Linked DNA regions of Homo sapiens: region 2 is linked to region 1. The links are contacts of gene promoters, found by promoter capture Hi-C in blood cells and fetal thymus (Javierre and others, 2016). All regions are on one chromosome and are shown on one strand. Each heading gives the region's core, a stretch centred on a gene start or on the middle of the fragment in contact. The rest is flanking DNA. Distances are from core to core; before and after follow the strand shown. Region 1 holds the start of HAUS6 (HAUS augmin like complex subunit 6). Region 2 holds the start of C9orf72 (C9orf72-SMCR8 complex subunit).

What was found. The method cuts DNA at HindIII sites, captures the fragments that hold promoters and counts their contacts. A CHiCAGO score of 5 or more calls a contact.
Region 2: a contact is called between the fragment with the promoter of C9orf72 here and the fragment with the promoter of HAUS6 in region 1, in 1 of 17 cell types (non-activated CD4 T cells). The highest score is 7.4, in non-activated CD4 T cells.

What each region holds. Positions count from the first base shown.
Region 1 is chr9:19,100,988-19,105,366 of GRCh38, reverse strand. HAUS6 (HAUS augmin like complex subunit 6) reads left to right here and starts at 2,463. Exons shown (of 17, transcript NM_017645.5): 1 at 2,463-2,843. The coding sequence starts at 2,716. RefSeq lists an enhancer at 2,221-2,784. The HindIII fragment of the contact is 8,228 bases long and covers 196-4,379 here.
Region 2 is chr9:27,570,986-27,575,411 of GRCh38, reverse strand. C9orf72 (C9orf72-SMCR8 complex subunit) reads left to right here and starts at 1,931. Exons shown (of 11, transcript NM_018325.5): 1 at 1,931-1,981. RefSeq lists enhancers at 1,322-1,849, 2,448-2,537 and a silencer at 1,858-1,937. The HindIII fragment of the contact is 3,790 bases long and covers 1-2,490 here.

The sequences.
Region 1 (4,379 bases), core at 1,214-3,713:
AAGTAGCTAGGCACTTACAAGGCTCCTATAAAATTAATGCTTATGGTTTAAAAATAGCCACATTCTAAGCTGGCCACCAATTATAATTACAGAATATTTATGGCCATACAGGACATCTCCCACTAAGCCTGCAGAATGTCCAGATGTTCTAAAGAGCAGCCCACTTTACTTAAAGATGACGTTAATGAGCAAGCTTAGGTTGAAAGATTAATGGTCTCTGAAAGCACAATAGCCCTACCTTTAGTGAGCACATCTGCGCATTCCAAGTTTAATCACAGCTCTTTATAGTTTCTTACAAGCAGAGACAGTAACAAAGGACCTTGTGTTCCTCCGCCTGCTTTCTGAGGTTGCTCCGCTCTTCAACGGAGTAGTTTCCAATAAACTTGCTTCCTTCATTGTGTTCTGTGATTCACCTCAAATTATTTCCTGCACGAGATCCAAGAACCTTCTCTTTGGGTCTGGATCAGGACTCTGTTTTTTCCGGCAACAATTTTACAGACTTTGACTCTTTTTGTCGACAGGAGTCAGAGATTTTTTTTTTGTGGCTGTTCTTTTGCTTTGAGAAGGGTCTTGCTCTGTCACTAGGCTGAAGTGCAGTCGTGCAATCACAGTTTACTGCAGCCTCAGCCTCCCAGGGCCCACGTGATTTTCCCACCTCAGCCTTCTGAGCAGCTGGACCACAGGCGTGCACCACCAGAATGGAGTCAGAGATCTTACAGATGACCTCCATAATGAAAAGCTATGGGTGATAGCATAAACTTCAAAAGGTGCTTTTAGGCTGGGCACGGTGGCTCATTCCTTGGGAGGTCAAGGTGGGCAGGTCGCTTGAGCCCAGGAGTTCGAGCCCAGCCTGGGCAACTTAGTGGCTTTTCTTTCTTTCTCTCTCTCTCTCTCCTCTTTTTTTTTTTTTTTTTTGAGACAGAGTCTCACTTTGTCGCCCAGGCTGGAATGCAGTGGAAGGATCTTGGCTCACTGCAACGTCTGCCTCCCGGGTTCAAGCGATTCTTCTGCCTCAGCCTCCCGAGTAGCTGAGCTGGGATTACAGGCATGCGCTACCACGCCCGGCTAATTTTGTATTTTTAGTAGAGACGGGGTTTCTACATGTTGGTCAGGCTGGTCTCGAACTCCCCACCTCAGGTGATCCGCCCACCTTGGCCTCCCAAAGTGCTGGGATTATAGGCGTGAGCCACTGTGCCCCGCCTCTCTCTCTTTTATTAAGGTGATTTTAGTGAGGCAGGAGACAATCATTGCCAGAGGTAGCAATGAGACTTAAAAGCAGGTTACCCAATCCACTTCCAGGCCCTGTTGTCAGTGGGGTTTGTGGTAGGCAACAGCTGTCAATTAAGACGACGGGCCGGGTGCGGTGGCTCACGCCTATAATCCCAGCACTTCGGGAGGCCGAGGAGGGCGGATCACGAGGTCAGGAGATCGAGACCATCCTGGCTAACAGGGTGAAACCCCGTCTCTACTAAAAATACAAAAAATTAGCCCGGCGTGGTGGTGGGAGCCTGTAGTCCCAGCTACTCGGGAGGCTGAGGCAGGAGAATGGCGTGAACCTGGGAGGCGGAGCTTGCAGTGAGCCGAGATTGCGCCACTGCACTCCAGCCTGGGAGACAGAGCTAGACTCCGTCTCAAAAAAAAAAAAAAAAAAAAAAAAAAAATTAAGAGGACTGCAGGCGGCCAGGCGCAGTGGCTCACGCCTGTAATCCCAGCACTTTGGGAGGCCAAGACCGGCAGATAACCTGAGGTCAGGAGTTCGAGACCAGCCAGCCAACATGGTGAAACCCCGTCTCCATTAAAAATACAAAAAAATTAGCCGGGCGTGGTGGCGGACACCTGTTAATCCCAGCTACTCGGGAGGCTGAGGCAGGAGAATCGCTTGAACCCGGGAGGCGGAGGTTGCAGTGAGCCGAAATCGCGTCACTGCACCCCAACTTGAGCAACAAGAGCGAAACCCCGTCTCAAAAAAAAAAAAAAAAAAAAAAAAGACTGCAGGACTGCAGGGGAGTATAGAGCCAGATTTCATTTAAAGCAGGAAAAGGAACATCCGGCATTTGAGGACATAGATTTCGCTAACGACAGAAATGAGGCTCAGAGATTACGTGACTTGATTAGAGTCACAGTGAGCATAGCGGAGGATGGAACCAATGCTTTAACTCTACACCGAGGCATAGTGCTCCATTTATGGCTTTTTTGTGACGTAACAACTAGGATACACAAGCAAATGGACCCCACTAACCAAGAATCAGAAACCCGAAGGCCCGAGGATCTGGGCACGACAGCGGTTAAGCAAGCGCAGAGCAAGTCGCTGGCCGCGCAATGCCCGGTGGGTCTTGCAGTTTCTTGGCTGGGCATGGCCGGAAGGGAGGAGAGAAGGACGCATTGCATGGCGGGAGATATAGTCTTTGCCGGAAGTCCCTCCTCCCTCGGACGCCTGGCGGCGCCGGCGCACACTGCTCTTCCTTAAGGGCGGGAGTCTCGGTTTGTGGTGGCTTCGCTGAGGCAGTGGTGGCCGCACTATACCGTTAGAAACTCAATTTCCCGGAGGTTGTGAGGCCCTTTGAGGCGAAATCGCTCTGGGCGTGAAAGGAGCAGGCGTTGGCAATGGAAGGACCACCGCGACCTCAGGCTGACCGTAGGGAGGGATCTTGAGGGCCCTCCGAGTCCCCTGGGCTTGCGCTTTCTTTCTTTGCAGCCACCGTGCCTACCGCGAGGATGAGCTCGGCCTCGGTCACCGCTTTCGAGAAGGAGCATCTCTGGATGTATCTGCAGGCGCTCGGCTTCGAGCCAGGCCCGGCAACCATTGCCTGCGGAAAGATCGTGTCGCACACGCACCTCGGAGTGTAAGGAGGCCGGGGCCGGCGGGGCGAGGGAGCCTGAACCGGGGGACGCCGGGGGACTCCCCCTTTTGTAGACCCCGGAGGTTGATTAATCAGAATTGGTTGAGCAGTTACTCTGTGCCAGGCATTGGCTCCAAAGTTCCTACTCCCAGTTGCTGCCAGCCTAGGGGCAGAGACAGACAGTAAATAATGCAAGAGTGCCGGAAGCGCTCTGTAGGGGAGTGCAAAAGTCTGCAGATGGGGAGAGTGCAAGACTGGAGGAGCAGCTTAACTCTGCCTATGTGGTGGAGGGGTGGTCTGTGAAGTAGTGGGAGGGATGGCGGGTGGTAGTGGAAGAGCATGGGAACCATATGTACAAAACACCTTTTGGACTCAAGGGAGCCTTTGAAGGTGGTTGTTTAATTTTATAATTTTTAATTTTTTAATTAGTAAGGCATGTTGGAGTTAGCATAAAACAACGGAGAAGGGTATTAAAAACAAATACCCTTTTAAGAAAAGTATGGAAAGTAAAAGCCCCTTCCCTACTTTTTCCACTTCTGTTTTATCAACTTTAGCCAGTATCTCTATTTAATCATTCCCACTGTAGGCCAAGAGGAATTCTTTTCTTTCATATGGAGTCTCCCTCTGTTGCCAGGCTGGAGTGCAGTGGCACGATCTCGGCTCACTGCACCCTCCAACTCCCTGGTTCAAGCGATTCTCCTGCCTCAGCCTCCCGAGTAGCTGGGATTACAGGCACTTGCCACCACGCCCAACCAATTTTTGTATCTTTAGTAGAGACGGGGTTTCACCATGTTGGCCAGGATGGTCTCGATCTCCTGAGCTCATGATCCACCTGCCTCGGCCTCCCAAAGTGCTGGGATTACAGGCGTGAGCCACCGTGCCCGGCCTCTATTTTTTTAAAGTATTATTATTTTAGAGACAGTAGCTAACCATGTTGCCCAGGCTGGTCTCAAAATTCCTGGGCTCAAGCAATCCTCCTGCTTCGGTCTTCCAAAGTGCTGGGATTATAGATATGAGCCATTGTTTTTTGTTTTGAGACAGGGTCTCCCACTCTGTCGCCCAGTCTGGAGTGCAGTTGTGCGATCACAGCTCACTGCAGCCTCCAACTCCTGGGCTCAGGCGATCCTCCCACTTCACCCTCCTGAGTAGCTGGGACTACAGGTGCGTGGCACCATGCCTAGGGTCGGCATGTTGCCCAGGCTGGTCTTGAGCTCCTGGCCTCCAGCAATCCCCCCGCCTTGGCCACTCCAAGTGCTGGGATTACAGATGTGAGCCACCGAGCCTGGCCTGTTTTATTTATGTTCATAGTTGTACATATTTTGGGGATATAAAATTTTGATATTTTGATACACTTATACAATGTATAAGGATCAGATCAGGATAAATGGGATAGCCATCATCTCAAACATTTATCTTTCCTTTGTGTTGGAAACATTTCAGTTCTTTTCTAGCTATTTTAAAATACACAATAAATTATTTTTAACTATAGTTTCACTTATGTACTATTGAACACTAGAACTTATTCCTTCTATCTAACTG
Region 2 (4,426 bases), core at 682-3,181, 8.5 Mb before region 1:
TGAGCCATTAAACTTTTCTTTATAAATTACCCAGTTTCAGTTATTTCTTTATAGCAGTGTAAGAATGGACTAACACAATTATTAACGCTAGTCCTCATGTTGTACATTAAATCTCTAGATGTATTAGACGTAACTGCAACTTTGTACCCTACCCTACAATTTTCTTTCCCCCCAAGCCCCCCAACCAAGGGTCTACTCTGTTTCTATAAATTCAGTTGTTTTTTAATTCCACGTATAAGTGAAGTACAACTCAGTGTAGAAACTTGGTAAATGCTAGCTACTTGTTATAAGCTGTCAGTCAAAATAAAAATACAGAGATGAATCTCTAAATTAAGTGATTTATTTGGGAAGAAAGAATTGCAATTAGGGCATACATGTAGATCAGATGGTCTTCGGTATATCCACACAACAAAGAAAAGGGGGAGGTTTTGTTAAAAAAGAGAAATGTTACATAGTGCTCTTTGAGAAAATTCATTGGCACTATTAAGGATCTGAGGAGCTGGTGAGTTTCAACTGGTGAGTGATGGTGGTAGATAAAATTAGAGCTGCAGCAGGTCATTTTAGCAACTATTAGATAAAACTGGTCTCAGGTCACAACGGGCAGTTGCAGCAGCTGGACTTGGAGAGAATTACACTGTGGGAGCAGTGTCATTTGTCCTAAGTGCTTTTCTACCCCCTACCCCCACTATTTTAGTTGGGTATAAAAAGAATGACCCAATTTGTATGATCAACTTTCACAAAGCATAGAACAGTAGGAAAAGGGTCTGTTTCTGCAGAAGGTGTAGACGTTGAGAGCCATTTTGTGTATTTATTCCTCCCTTTCTTCCTCGGTGAATGATTAAAACGTTCTGTGTGATTTTTAGTGATGAAAAAGATTAAATGCTACTCACTGTAGTAAGTGCCATCTCACACTTGCAGATCAAAAGGCACACAGTTTAAAAAACCTTTGTTTTTTTACACATCTGAGTGGTGTAAATGCTACTCATCTGTAGTAAGTGGAATCTATACACCTGCAGACCAAAAGACGCAAGGTTTCAAAAATCTTTGTGTTTTTTACACATCAAACAGAATGGTACGTTTTTCAAAAGTTAAAAAAAAACAACTCATCCACATATTGCAACTAGCAAAAATGACATTCCCCAGTGTGAAAATCATGCTTGAGAGAATTCTTACATGTAAAGGCAAAATTGCGATGACTTTGCAGGGGACCGTGGGATTCCCGCCCGCAGTGCCGGAGCTGTCCCCTACCAGGGTTTGCAGTGGAGTTTTGAATGCACTTAACAGTGTCTTACGGTAAAAACAAAATTTCATCCACCAATTATGTGTTGAGCGCCCACTGCCTACCAAGCACAAACAAAACCATTCAAAACCACGAAATCGTCTTCACTTTCTCCAGATCCAGCAGCCTCCCCTATTAAGGTTCGCACACGCTATTGCGCCAACGCTCCTCCAGAGCGGGTCTTAAGATAAAAGAACAGGACAAGTTGCCCCGCCCCATTTCGCTAGCCTCGTGAGAAAACGTCATCGCACATAGAAAACAGACAGACGTAACCTACGGTGTCCCGCTAGGAAAGAGAGGTGCGTCAAACAGCGACAAGTTCCGCCCACGTAAAAGATGACGCTTGGTGTGTCAGCCGTCCCTGCTGCCCGGTTGCTTCTCTTTTGGGGGCGGGGTCTAGCAAGAGCAGGTGTGGGTTTAGGAGGTGTGTGTTTTTGTTTTTCCCACCCTCTCTCCCCACTACTTGCTCTCACAGTACTCGCTGAGGGTGAACAAGAAAAGACCTGATAAAGATTAACCAGAAGAAAACAAGGAGGGAAACAACCGCAGCCTGTAGCAAGCTCTGGAACTCAGGAGTCGCGCGCTAGGGGCCGGGGCCGGGGCCGGGGCGTGGTCGGGGCGGGCCCGGGGGCGGGCCCGGGGCGGGGCTGCGGTTGCGGTGCCTGCGCCCGCGGCGGCGGAGGCGCAGGCGGTGGCGAGTGGGTGAGTGAGGAGGCGGCATCCTGGCGGGTGGCTGTTTGGGGTTCGGCTGCCGGGAAGAGGCGCGGGTAGAAGCGGGGGCTCTCCTCAGAGCTCGACGCATTTTTACTTTCCCTCTCATTTCTCTGACCGAAGCTGGGTGTCGGGCTTTCGCCTCTAGCGACTGGTGGAATTGCCTGCATCCGGGCCCCGGGCTTCCCGGCGGCGGCGGCGGCGGCGGCGGCGCAGGGACAAGGGATGGGGATCTGGCCTCTTCCTTGCTTTCCCGCCCTCAGTACCCGAGCTGTCTCCTTCCCGGGGACCCGCTGGGAGCGCTGCCGCTGCGGGCTCGAGAAAAGGGAGCCTCGGGTACTGAGAGGCCTCGCCTGGGGGAAGGCCGGAGGGTGGGCGGCGCGCGGCTTCTGCGGACCAAGTCGGGGTTCGCTAGGAACCCGAGACGGTCCCTGCCGGCGAGGAGATCATGCGGGATGAGATGGGGGTGTGGAGACGCCTGCACAATTTCAGCCCAAGCTTCTAGAGAGTGGTGATGACTTGCATATGAGGGCAGCAATGCAAGTCGGTGTGCTCCCCATTCTGTGGGACATGACCTGGTTGCTTCACAGCTCCGAGATGACACAGACTTGCTTAAAGGAAGTGACTATTGTGACTTGGGCATCACTTGACTGATGGTAATCAGTTGTCTAAAGAAGTGCACAGATTACATGTCCGTGTGCTCATTGGGTCTATCTGGCCGCGTTGAACACCACCAGGCTTTGTATTCAGAAACAGGAGGGAGGTCCTGCACTTTCCCAGGAGGGGTGGCCCTTTCAGATGCAATCGAGATTGTTAGGCTCTGGGAGAGTAGTTGCCTGGTTGTGGCAGTTGGTAAATTTCTATTCAAACAGTTGCCATGCACCAGTTGTTCACAACAAGGGTACGTAATCTGTCTGGCATTACTTCTACTTTTGTACAAAGGATCAAAAAAAAAAAAGATACTGTTAAGATATGATTTTTCTCAGACTTTGGGAAACTTTTAACATAATCTGTGAATATCACAGAAACAAGACTATCATATAGGGGATATTAATAACCTGGAGTCAGAATACTTGAAATACGGTGTCATTTGACACGGGCATTGTTGTCACCACCTCTGCCAAGGCCTGCCACTTTAGGAAAACCCTGAATCAGTTGGAAACTGCTACATGCTGATAGTACATCTGAAACAAGAACGAGAGTAATTACCACATTCCAGATTGTTCACTAAGCCAGCATTTACCTGCTCCAGGAAAAAATTACAAGCACCTTATGAAGTTGATAAAATATTTTGTTTGGCTATGTTGGCACTCCACAATTTGCTTTCAGAGAAACAAAGTAAACCAAGGAGGACTTCTGTTTTTCAAGTCTGCCCTCGGGTTCTATTCTACGTTAATTAGATAGTTCCCAGGAGGACTAGGTTAGCCTACCTATTGTCTGAGAAACTTGGAACTGTGAGAAATGGCCAGATAGTGATATGAACTTCACCTTCCAGTCTTCCCTGATGTTGAAGATTGAGAAAGTGTTGTGAACTTTCTGGTACTGTAAACAGTTCACTGTCCTTGAAGTGGTCCTGGGCAGCTCCTGTTGTGGAAAGTGGACGGTTTAGGATCCTGCTTCTCTTTGGGCTGGGAGAAAATAAACAGCATGGTTACAAGTATTGAGAGCCAGGTTGGAGAAGGTGGCTTACACCTGTAATGCCAGAGCTTTGGGAGGCGGAGGCAAGAGGATCACTTGAAGCCAGGAGTTCAAGCTCAACCTGGGCAACGTAGACCCTGTCTCTACAAAAAATTAAAAACTTAGCCGGGCGTGGTGATGTGCACCTGTAGTCCTAGCTACTTGGGAGGCTGAGGCAGGAGGGTCATTTGAGCCCAAGAGTTTGAAGTTACCGAGAGCTATGATCCTGCCAGTGCATTCCAGCCTGGATGACAAAACGAGACCCTGTCTCTAAAAAACAAGAAGTGAGGGCTTTATGATTGTAGAATTTTCACTACAATAGCAGTGGACCAACCACCTTTCTAAATACCAATCAGGGAAGAGATGGTTGATTTTTTAACAGACGTTTAAAGAAAAAGCAAAACCTCAAACTTAGCACTCTACTAACAGTTTTAGCAGATGTTAATTAATGTAATCATGTCTGCATGTATGGGATTATTTCCAGAAAGTGTATTGGGAAACCTCTCATGAACCCTGTGAGCAAGCCACCGTCTCACTCAATTTGAATCTTGGCTTCCCTCAAAAGACTGGCTAATGTTTGGTAACTCTCTGGAGTAGACAGCACTACATGTACGTAAGATAGGTACATAAACAACTATTGGTTTTGAGCTGATTTTTTTCAGCTGCATTTGCATGTATGGATTTTTCTCACCAAAGACGATGACTTCAAGTATTAGTAAAATAATTGTACAGCTCTCCTGATTATACTTCTCTGTGACA